4 separate regions of the Homo sapiens genome follow, and regions 1, 2 and 4 are each linked to region 3. The links are contacts of gene promoters, found by promoter capture Hi-C in blood cells and fetal thymus (Javierre and others, 2016). All regions are on one chromosome and are shown on one strand. The core of a region is centred on a gene start or on the middle of the fragment in contact, and the rest is flanking DNA. Distances in the headings are between cores, read along the strand shown. Region 1 overlaps ATP8B4 (ATPase phospholipid transporting 8B4 (putative)). Region 2 has its middle 8.1 kb from the start of ATP8B4. Region 3 holds the start of COPS2 (COP9 signalosome subunit 2). Region 4 overlaps ATP8B4 (ATPase phospholipid transporting 8B4 (putative)).

Region 1 (2,700 bases), core at 96-2,595, 850 kb after region 3:
AATCCTGTAACGCAGGTCTTATTGTTATCTCCACTTTACAGATGAGCAAAGTAAGGCCCAGAGGGCTTCTGTAACTTCCTCAAGGTTACACAGTAAGGGTAGGAGCCAGGATTTGAATCTGGGCATACAGTATGAGGCATATACTGCAAGGGATACCAAAATGAGTAAAAATCTCTTTGCTTCAAGGATTTGTATAGTTTAATAAAGGCAGAATATAAGGTTTCTAAGAGCCTCATTAACAAAGTGCTATGAAAGGAGTGCAAATGAGAGTGCAACGTTGGGTTGGTAGTTGAGGAAGGGCATCATGGAATATTCTAGATGCAGTGAAAGGAAGTCCCCAAGGCAGAATGACTAGCAGGAGTAAAGAAGAGGAAAGGAAAAGCGTGAATATCCAAACTCACAAGTGGGCCAGGATATCATTAATTCTGATCAGAACCACCTATCATATGCCCCATATTTACTTTCTTTTGTGAATTATTCATGCCTTTTCTCCTTGCTCTGCCAGGAGAGGCTCTGCTATGTTCTTCATGAAGGAACCAGTGTTTTCCAACACAACGCCCCTTCCCCAACTTCCATGGGCAACAGAAAACAAATATTCCCATCAGAAGGAATCTGAAAAGAATGCACTGAACATATTTGGGTCCTCAGAGCCAAAGACATTGTCCTCATAGGGTTATTAGGCATAATAAATATTTGTTGAGTTAAAGAATAAAGTAAAATGTAAAGCAATGATAACACCCTAAAGCTGTACAATTCTTTAAGGATTTATAAAACCCTCTCTCATAATTGTGTCGTTTTACTCTCTTCACAACCCTGTGAGTGAGTAGTATTATTCCCATTGTATGGATGAGGAACCCAGGAGGTCATATCTGGCCCAGGAGTGAGGGAGGAATAGACTCTACCACACCCACCAGAAGAACTAAATTAACTCATGTAAAGCCCATGGCCCTTCCAAAGTCATTGAGGAACCCAAGGGCCCAAGAGACTTAACACAATCCTCATGGACACTCATAGCTTAAATTGCAGAGCTGGAATTAGAATTTAGAACTTCTGATCCCAAAATGTATGCTCTTTTCCTCTGGTGGGCTACTAAATCACTGGAACACAACTACGAAAAACAGAAAGTATTTCACTTTGTTTTATGTTTTGTTTTGCTTTGTTGGTGTTCAAAAATCAAAACTACAATGGTGAAAGAATATTTGGATTGTGGCTCCATGACCTGATGGAAAGATAAATTTGTAGAATTAAGTTGAACACTTTTGGATCGCCTTTTATTTTTTAGGCCATTCTCACACAGAGTTCTTCATCTTCTCTATCATCTACAACATTATCTTTTATTTTAATCTAAAAATAAAAATAAACCAAATACCTCATGCATTGAGTCAAAAAATGAGAATGAGATCCTAAAAATGAAGTTTATATGGTAATAGGTAACGTTTGTATTTAAAATTTAAATTTCAGGTCCAATAAATGCATATTGATTACTAATATGTACGGGATACATCATTGTTTTTCTAATTACAGTGATTTGAGAAGAATAAGAAAAAGATGGTGACAAAGAAGAGAAGGAAGGCTGAGAATAATAATGGACATCATAAAATTTATTAACAGGCAGGCTGTTCCTCTAGTCAAAAAAAAAAAAAATCCTTGCCTGAATATTTTACCCCCACTTTCTACTGTCATATAAATATGACAAATAGATATATATCAGAGAGAGAGACAGAAAGAGATAGAAAGATAGAGATGGTTTACTTACAGCAAATAGGTTGGAACAACAAGCAACTCTGACGTGAAGTTATAAAACTTAAAAGAGCAATGAGGGCAATGAGACCACCAAAAAAAAAAAAAAAAAAAAAGGCCTCTCTGGAAGTGTGTCCAAGATAGGTGTTGAAAAAGAACAGATGAAATTCCCTGATGAGTCAAGAAAGAGCAAAAGCCCACCCCAGTCACGCCTGGAGTTTAGGTCAAATTAATCATTCTAGCCCTATCATTTCCGAAGAATAAAATTGTCAATTCCTCTATCAGAAGAATGCCTTGGTTTTAAAACAACAATTCTATGAATGCCTTTTTGTGAAGGGAAAGGAAGGACTTTTCAAACAAGCTAAACAACTCAATTCTAGTAATGTTCAAATATGCTCATGCCAAGTAAGGATTTTATTTCTACCATCAGCTAAGAAAAGTGAAACAACACAAGAGTACTGCTGTCCAGTGAAGGAGAAAGGTACACCTGGCTCCCACGGTCCGAGTTCCGGTGGTATCAGGAACTCTGCAGTATGTTTTTCTAACAAAATTTATTTGGTTCTTCTAATGCAAGTCAGACTCCTTGTGGTATCTGAATTATACTCTGCATTTTTCCTGGTCCTTCCAAAAAACTAGGAATTCTGGCAATTCAGCCCACAAGTATTCTTGAATTTTAAAATGTACATACAAATGCAGAACATAAAAAAAATAAATAAATAAAAATAAATAAAAGGTAAGTAACTTCTGAATATGCCAGCTAATTGGCAATCTCCGGTGAGCTTTTTTCCTTGCTTAAAATTTACTGATAAACTGACATAAATCAGGTTGCAAATTCTAAGTTCGAACAGCTAGAAGTTATGCATCTGCACTGGGCACAACATATTTTCTGATCACTTGGCTTCCAGCATCCAAGCCAAGAGCCCCTAACTCTGGTAGCCCAGACTCAAGTCAATGAGGATG
Region 2 (2,861 bases), core at 155-2,654, 970 kb after region 3:
GTAACTGCAGAAAACTGAATCTATGCTCCCAGGTTGCAATCCTCAAGCTTGGCCCAAATAAACCCTCTAGTTATATCTATTTTGCCTGGGATTCTTTCTTTTAGGTCGATATCTGCCCTAACAAGAATCCTTCTAGTGGAAGAGAAAATAGTTGTGAACAAATTGTGACACAATGTGATAGTAACTCTAATTTAGGTGTCCCTTGTCCAAACAGGCTTCGGAACTACAGGAGAGGGGAAGCCATATTTCAGTGTGGGTGTGGAGGTGTCACGGGAAACCCTCAGAACAAGTGAAGCTGAGTCCTGAAAGATGAGTAGATGAGTTAGGGAGGGTCTTGTTAGTTCCTAACAAGCTAACAGTCCAAAAAAAAAAAAAAAACACTTCACTAATACTGTCAGAGGCGTCCAAGGCCTTTGAACCAGAGCAACTCCATCTTACATTCCCAGAAGATTAGTCATTCTTAGACACAGTTTCAGTTAAGGGAACAGGTTAATAATGTTTACTGAACAGACCCAGGAAATGTCCCGATGACCTGATATTGTTACTGGAAAGGGATCCCAATCCAGATCCCAAGAGAAGGTTCCTGGACCTTGTGCAAGAAAGATTTCCATTTGGTGGAGGTCCGAGTTTCTGAAAAGTAAACTCAGGGTCATATGTCAAGATGTTATCTTTAGCTTCTGTAGAGAACCAAACATCTTATGACTATAACTTCTTTAGCTATTATTTTAAGCTACTATTACTCTCTTACTTATCAAGTTGCTCATTTAATTCTCAGGACTAGCTAGGTGCCTGGAATTTCCATTGAAGAAACGCAAGATTTTCCTTTATTTCCATGCTTGGTGGAGGGTGGCAGGCAATCTGATAAGCAAGGAGGTAATAATAGCTTGAAACAATAGCCAAAGAAGTTAGAGTCCCAATAGAAACTAAAAATAACATCTTAACATATGTCCCTGAGCTGTTTTGCAGAAACCTGCCCACAGCCCCCACACCCCCCCGCCACCAAATGGAAAACACCATCCACTGGCACAACAGACCTTGGGGAAGGGGGAACTGGAGACTGAAATCTGACCACTGTTCTTCATTCTAAATTTCTTCCTGAGGGGCCTGGCAGAAGTTATACCTACAGGCCAGAGTTCAACATTCCTTTCTGCTGACCCCAAGTTTTTAAACAAATCTTAACCAATCGCAGATCGGGAAATCTTTGAATCTACCTGTAACCTGTGGACCCCCACTTCAAGATGTCTCCCCCTTTTTAGGTCAAACCAATAGCCTCCATGTATTGATTTATGGCTCTGCCTGGAACCTCTGCCTCCCTGCCTTTAAAAACTCTTACATGGAAGCCATCAAGGGGTTTGGGTTTTAAGATTAGCTGCCCAATTCTCCTTGCATAGCACCCTGCAATAAATGCTTCACTTTTCCTCACTGCAAATCAATCCCAGTGTTAGTATTTGGCTTTGCTGCATGGGCAGGCAGATTAACTGACCCATGTTCAGTTCAGTAACAATGGCCTTCCTCTACTGTGACTTGGGCTTCCATTCTAAATGGCTTGAGTGAGTCACAAACATACATCCCACAGCAATCGTGAATGTGGAGAGCAAAGGTGAGTTTGCCATCATCTCAGTATATCAGTCAATGTAATTTCTAGGTCCTAATGGATCAGAGACCAGGCAAAGATTAGGCAAGAATTGAGTCATGGAGGCCTCAAATGTTGCCTTATACACACTATCTCTGAGGATAGCAACCTAGACGCATTCTCTCTTAGATAAATAAACTGCTGCAGCTTGTGCTATAATACCGATTGCAAAGAAATTGATCCTACAGAACTAGAAGACTGCACTGGAGCAGGAGGTTAAAGCATCGGATGGCAGGAGGGAGATAAAACTGTTCAAGGCAGCTCTAGGACCATCCTGTCCTCTAGAGATATCCCATTATACATAGGGAGAGGAACAAACACCAGTAAGGTCTGTCTTTGAAGAAATATTAATTTCAGATGAACAATACCAAGGTGTGCCTCACTGTGGTTCTGCACACATCCCCACCAATGCTGAGCCATCTTTAGGTAGAGTGTGCCCCAGTCTCAAGGCCCAGGAGCTACAGCAGATGAGCAGATGATGGAGCTACTTCTTGTGCAACCCCATGTTTCTGTGCATTTCAGGGTAAGGAAGGTGCTACCTTCAGAGCTTCTCTTTTGAGTAAGCCAGTGTTTCGTTTTGTATCCAGTCTGTCAAGGAAAGAAGGAATTAATATCACCCCAGAAAAGCAGGAGGAACACTTATGGAGTTAAGTCATGCCAGAGACCAGCGAAAGAAGGGGAATCATGGAGACAGACACCAGAGTCCTGGGTTTTCCTAGCTTCAGAGCTAAACTTCAAGAGGGAGCTGGCTTTAGAAACATCCAGAGAGTTGGAGTCACATGGAAAATCTAGGCTAAGCACCCATTTCCTTTGGGTCTGAAGGGTGCCCTTCTCCATCAGAGCATCAGATCCAGCAAAGCTGGGAGCAGTATGGAACACTGGAGGAGAAAGGTGGCTGCAGATGCTTGAGGCTATGTTCCTGCCTCCTTGTGGCTGATGAAGGGCAAGGCCTGGGCCAAAATGACAAGATCTGCTTGTGCAAAGAGAATCCAGAGGACCTGGCATGGATCCAAGGCTCCCACTTCCCTCTACTGTCACAGAGTCACACAGGTTCTCTGTGATGCCATTCTGGAGAGAAGCAGGAGAGGAGAGGGACACCCAAAGGCCCTAAAAAAGACTAAATAATCAAAAGCTTATTTGAACTGGAAAAGACTGTGGTTGGTAAATTGATCAGTGGAAGGTTTATTGGGGATTATTTTTCCCTACTTACCCTTTGGAGTGTGTGAGT
Region 3 (2,700 bases), core at 138-2,637:
CACCTGTAATATAAATAAACAGGTAATAAGTAAAAATGGACAGATACATATTCTTAATGAACTGAAGTCACTGCCTACAACTGGCTTGCACAAACTAAAATGTAAGGTAGAAACCATAACTATTAGCGAAACTACATTTAACTTTAAAAATTATAAAAATCTCTACTATGACTTTCAAATAATAGCGAGAATTTCCTTTCTCCCTTTTGCAAAGTGTGCCTTATTTTAAAATGCAAAAAACTGAAAATATATACGAAAAAGTTATAGACTAATTCAAAACAATGTATTAATATTTTGACAATCTCTGGCACTTAAAATGAGTCAGACGTCCCAAAACATCTATTTCGTAACTTTATGATAATGCAGCATCACCATAAAAGAACCATATGAAACACCCCCAAAATAAAGAAACACAGCAAAATTGACGTTAATTCTGGATCAAGATAATTTTCTGAGTTTCCACACGATGTTTTTGAATAGCAAACGTTATTCAAACTTGCAAATCCATTAATAAATGAAGCTTTGAATCTTTAAAAATCTCCATTCGGTCAGAAAAATTCGTTTATTTCTATGCTGTTGCTGTTTTAAACTTTGTATACTGGGAAATTTCTAAGGGAAAAGCCATGGGTTCAATTATCTTTCACCCGTCCTCCAAAAACACCACAAGCAAAACCTCCTCCCCAGCTTTTCTTTATAAAGAACTGAAAAAGTGGTTCGACTACCTTTTTTTCAGTTATCTTTGCTCTGAACTCTCCCCTACACACTTACCTCGGACCAAAACTGGCCCTGGCAAGACTATTTAAGCTATGTCTCCAGGAGACTCACAAGTTGCGTTTCGCAGTCAGGCCTGGGAGCAGTAAGGACACCCCCGTTTTCTGACTTCTCCTAGCATTTCGCACCCGCTCAGTTCCAGTGTGAAGAAGTGGGGGCCCGGAACGCTGGGCCCGAAAGGGCAAAGCCAGGGCCTACACCGCAGCATGGTCACCGAGGCGGCTAGCGCGGTGGGGAGGCAGAAGACAGAGAACCGAACGCCTGGGACCAGGGGCATCCGTGTAAACCGAAGAGGCGCTCAGACTCGGAGGGCAAGGCCCGGGGCCCCCTTCGCTGCCTCCTTTGCCCTCCCTTCCCCCATGCTGGAGAAGCAGGGCCCGGGCCCGGTGCGGGAACGGGGAGGAGGTAAACCAGTCCTGTCACCGCACTGAGAGAGGCTGTAAACGGCACATGCTCTACGGGGAGAGGCCGCGGGCGCCCCGGCCCGGACCCCGAAAACAAGACACATCACCACCCTCAGAGTTCCATTCCCTGCGCCTCACCAGGTCGTAGTCCTCCTCATCATCGCACATGAAATCATCCTCCATGTCAGACATCTTGGCCGGGAGGGGGAGGAGAAATTGGAGACAACCTCCTCCCACAATCCTCCGCGGCTCAGAGGCGTCACTCTCAGCTTCTTTCCGCCTTCCAGTCCCTCTTAGAGGAGCTGTTTCCTGCCGGAACTAATTATCTCGACTTGTAGCTGATTCGCTACGACTCCAAAAGAGACTGCACCACCCCCCGTTTCCTCCGAAGTGGTTGGTGCCTTAGCAACTAAAGCTGGCAACTGGGACATCGTCCGGTGCTGCAGGTCTCAGCCGAAGGGCGTCGGAAACTGCGCTCGCATCGAGCAGTTTCCAGCCTCCTGGGTAAAGGAGCAGTCTCCTCCCTTGCTTGGGACTCTGGACGCATCTCATTCCGGTGAAAGTAAGGGACAGCTTAGGACCAGAAGCCTTTCGCGGAGAAAAGGCTGACATGCCCGTCCTATATGACAGGTATTATTTCTGCTATCATTGTACGTGTGCATTTAGCCCACACATTGCGGTGGGTGTTCCTAAGATACTTGGAGTACTTTTCAGCAACACAGTTTACACTTAATGCTTGTTATATTTGTAGTTGACAAAACAATTCTATGGATATCCTAAATTAGGTATGCAGCTATCAGTTGAGTTGCCTTAAATCTTACTCAGTTGTTCAACGAGTTGTAAACTGACCTTTACAGCCCTTGGGACCAAATTAAGGTAACAACGACTGGTTTTTAAAAAATACATTACTGTGAACCTGAGGGCATCATGTTGTAAGGAGATGGGGGCTGCGGTGACTCGCGGGATCAGGAATTTCAAGAGAACCGAGCGGAAAGGGAAATCCGCAACATGAAGCCCTCTCTCGCTCCCAGGCACCCCTCTACCAGCAGCCTCCTGCCAGAGCAGATTAGTCTCTATCCAGAAATTAAGGGAGAGATTGCTCGTAAAGATGACAAGCTGCTGTCATTTCTAAAATATGTGTGTGTTGATTCCAAAGATCCTGTGTCTTCCGTGCAGCTGAAAGCTGCTGAAACACGTCAGGAGCCAAAGAAATTCAGATTGCCGAAAGGCCATCACTTTGATATGATAAATATTAAGAGCATTCCCAAAGGCAAAATTTCCACTGTAGAAGCATTGACACTTTTCAATAATCATAAACTTTATCCAGAAACATGAACTGCTGAGAAAATAGCGCAAGAATATCATTTAGAACAGAAAGATGTGAATTCCCTTCTTAAATATTTTGTTACTTTTGAAGTCAAAATCTTCCCTCCTGAAGACAAGAAAGCAATACAATCAAAATGAAGAAAATCACAAAAATTTCCTATGTGTACTCCTCATCCCTCATCCTGTATATTTTCTTATT
Region 4 (3,004 bases), core at 94-2,593, 900 kb after region 3:
GACACTGGCACATAAACTACGTCAATTCTGAAATTTGCTGATAATGTAAGCTTTCTCTTTTCTATTGCATTCCAATCTGGAAACAAGTAGCCCTAGAGATTACTAACAGCAACTTGGGGCTATGAGTGGGGAGGCTGCCAAGAACAAACTCCGCACTAAAAATGCAGGGCCAAGAAATGCAGAGAAAGAAACTAGACCAAGCCTCTCCTGAGACTAGCCCTATCTCTGGACTTTTCAGCTACATGATCTGTCCATTCAACTCAAACTAAGTCAATTTGAGTTGGTTTTTCTTTTACTCTCAACCAACCAAACACCAGGTAAGAACATTCATAATATATGCAAGATCAGTTTGCTTTTTAAATAATAGCTTACTTGTATCTCTATGTTTGTCTTAAAGAATGCATCCCAGAAGGCTTAAACCCAAATGAGCTCAGCAGTTGTCCAGAGACACTGCCTACGTCTATGAATCCCACAAGCCCCAGGAGCTTTTGCAATCAGTACCACAGTTTCCTCACTATCAAATCATCATCCCACATTTGATGAAACATTTGTACATCATGACAACTATAAAAAGTAACCTTCCAGAGCTTGAGGGGGAAAACATCTAGCCCTTCTTGCCACAAAAGGAGGCAAATACAGTATTTTTATGGTACAATCCAGATTCCAGAGACAGAAATAATCCTGACTAATAAGGGAGAGATTATCTCTAAGCCATAAAATAAAAAACAAAAAGGGATTGTGTCCACAAACTACTGGCATAAAAGAGGAAGTAGCCAAAAGGCATTTGTACCGCTCAGAAAATATGTGAATTACCCATGTTCATGCAAAGAACCCAAAAGAATGCATGTATGGGACCTGGAGATTAGACATCTGGTACCTCACTGATACCAGGAAGAACCCCTGGTAGTTCCTCAGTATCAGCTGACTGTTGCCTGGTGCAGAGTCCACAGCTTTCCAGGATAGGGGCAATGGAAAGACGACAGTGCTCTTCTACGAACGCTGCTGAGGAAGCCTCAATCACAGAAGAGGCTTTGCAGAGTGTGTCAATCAATACTGACTACACTCATCATCACCACCACCACCACCACCATCATCTTAACGTTCTCCTGAGCCTCAGCTCCCAGACTTGAGCAGAAAACGTGTATGAGGAGGCAAAGAGCAGAGGGCACATATCCCCCAACATTCATTCATTCATTCATTCAACTAATTTTTGTTAAAGTCCTTCTGTGCTTCAGGCAATAATGTTATTGAGCCAGGGCTACAGACATGAGTAAGCAAAGACCCTCCCATCATCGAGTAAGTTTGTATGTTAGTTGTGGAGAGAGAGGCAGGAACAAGCAGACAATAAACTTGTAAACTGATGACACAATTTCAGGAGGTGATCATCAAATACTATGACAAAAACAATGAACAATAGAGCAAGAGCACCTTGCCTGCCAAGACTCCCTCAGGAAGCCTTCTTGCTTGATTTTCCAGGTTAATGCAGTATCAAGATTACCCTACTTGGTGAGACCAGTGGGAATACGTGTCCCCTAGGGGTGCTCGTTTCCTGGGTGCCCAAAAGAATCCTTTGGGCTATGAGAAATAAAAAAGAACTTCATGTATATTTTAACTAAAAATGTTAAAGTTACTAACATTTAATTACTATACACAATATATGTATATGTATATGTGTATATATATATATATACACACACACACACACACACACCTATAGCAAAGACAATATAATATCTATATTATCTATAGTAAAAACATATAGTACACACATGCATATATGTGTATACACACATATAAATATTAACAGTAAAGACAATCTATGCATTGTCTATATGTATACACACATATAGATTAATTTCTTTTTATTTTTTTATTTTTTATTGAGACAGAGTCTCGCTATGTTGCCCAGGCTGATCTCGAACTCCTGGCCTCAGGTGATCCTCCCACCTCGGCCTCTCACAGAACTGGGATTACAGGTATGAGCCACCACATTCGGTCAGATTTAATTTTCTTTTACAAGTGAGGAACATGCTCATAAACTTTGAAAACTGTGGACTAAACACTTATGGACAAAGGAGCTCATCTGTGCCTCCTCCTTTTAGATCTCATGTCACTAAGACTTGGGCACATAATGGAGAACATATAACTTTCTATGTCATAGATTCTCTGGGTCATACAGTGACACCAGATAATGGTATTGCCTCCTTCCATCTCCAGGCGCTATGCTGAACACTATATCATCTCAGGCAGTCCTTAAAAAATCCAATGAGCTGTGACTATTTCAGCACCATTTTACAGATGAGGAAACTGAGGCTTTGAACAGTTGTGAGGGTTGCCCATAAAAGCAAGTATTGTACAATCCTGTGTTCTCCCAAATGGTGTTTCGTGAGCAACGAGTCAGAAACTAGGAAGTCTCTAGACTGCCTTTTGGTTAATGGACTCACTGGCCCTCATCCGACATCCTTCACTCTGGTGAAGAACAGAACCTCTCTAAACTAAAGCACAGTGAAGAGCTCACATTAATTCAATCAGCTGGAGCAGTCACTTCCAGTCCTTTCAATCTAGGGAGAACATTGCTGGGCTTGTCTAGGGAGCTCATTTTCCATCTAGACCCCAGGAACAGAGATAGTGGCCAGGAAAGCTTTCAGGCCTCTGTCTCCCCACAAAGCAAATCTGCCTGACAGCATCACAAACTTTGTTCTCTTTTCTACCTTCCAGCCTTAATTTAGGGTTCCAGTGTCTGAAAGACAGTTCTAGAGCTAGTAAATGGCCTAGGAATAGTAATTTATCTACAAAGAACTAATTTTGGATAATTATCAGGGGAACAAATTAAATTTCCCTCTGAGATTAATTTAATCACACTAATTTTTTTTTCTCCAGGGTGTTTAGACGTATATAACATTTTAAGTAGTTGCAGTAAAATGTTTACTTTCTTTTTGTGACATCTAAAAAGGGACTGAAAATACAGACAGAAAGAGAGAGAGAGAGAAAAAGACCTAGCATA

What was found. Contacts are between HindIII fragments. The CHiCAGO score rates a contact against its expected background, and 5 or more counts as called.
Region 1: a fragment that was not itself captured here is called in contact with the fragment with the promoter of COPS2 in region 3 in 1 of 17 cell types (neutrophils); the score reaches 5.1 in neutrophils.
Region 2: a contact is called between a fragment that was not itself captured here and the fragment with the promoter of COPS2 in region 3, in 2 of 17 cell types (monocytes and M0 macrophages). The highest score is 5.7, in monocytes.
Region 4: a contact is called between a fragment that was not itself captured here and the fragment with the promoter of COPS2 in region 3, in 4 of 17 cell types (monocytes, M2 macrophages, M0 macrophages and 1 more). The highest score is 7.7, in monocytes.

The regions. Positions count from the first base shown.
Region 1 is chr15:50,004,655-50,007,354 of GRCh38, forward strand. All of the region lies in intron 7 of ATP8B4 (ATPase phospholipid transporting 8B4 (putative)), which reads right to left. Among named protein-coding and RNA genes, the nearest start is that of ATP8B4, 110 kb to the right of the region's middle. The HindIII fragment of the contact is 5,134 bases long and covers 1-2,700 here.
Region 2 is chr15:50,125,879-50,128,739 of GRCh38, forward strand. It overlaps a transcript of ATP8B4 not described here. Among named protein-coding and RNA genes, the nearest start is that of ATP8B4, 8.1 kb to the left of the region's middle. The HindIII fragment of the contact is 2,718 bases long and covers 46-2,763 here.
Region 3 is chr15:49,154,212-49,156,911 of GRCh38, forward strand. COPS2 (COP9 signalosome subunit 2) reads right to left here and starts at 1,388. Exons shown (of 13, transcript NM_004236.4): 1 at 1,314-1,388. The coding sequence starts at 1,367. It also overlaps a transcript of GALK2 not described here and the pseudogene NDUFAF4P1. RefSeq lists enhancers at 1,134-1,663, 1,422-2,340. The HindIII fragment of the contact is 2,527 bases long and covers 519-2,700 here.
Region 4 is chr15:50,055,028-50,058,031 of GRCh38, forward strand. All of the region lies in intron 3 of ATP8B4 (ATPase phospholipid transporting 8B4 (putative)), which reads right to left. Among named protein-coding and RNA genes, the nearest start is that of ATP8B4, 63 kb to the right of the region's middle. The HindIII fragment of the contact is 2,591 bases long and covers 49-2,639 here.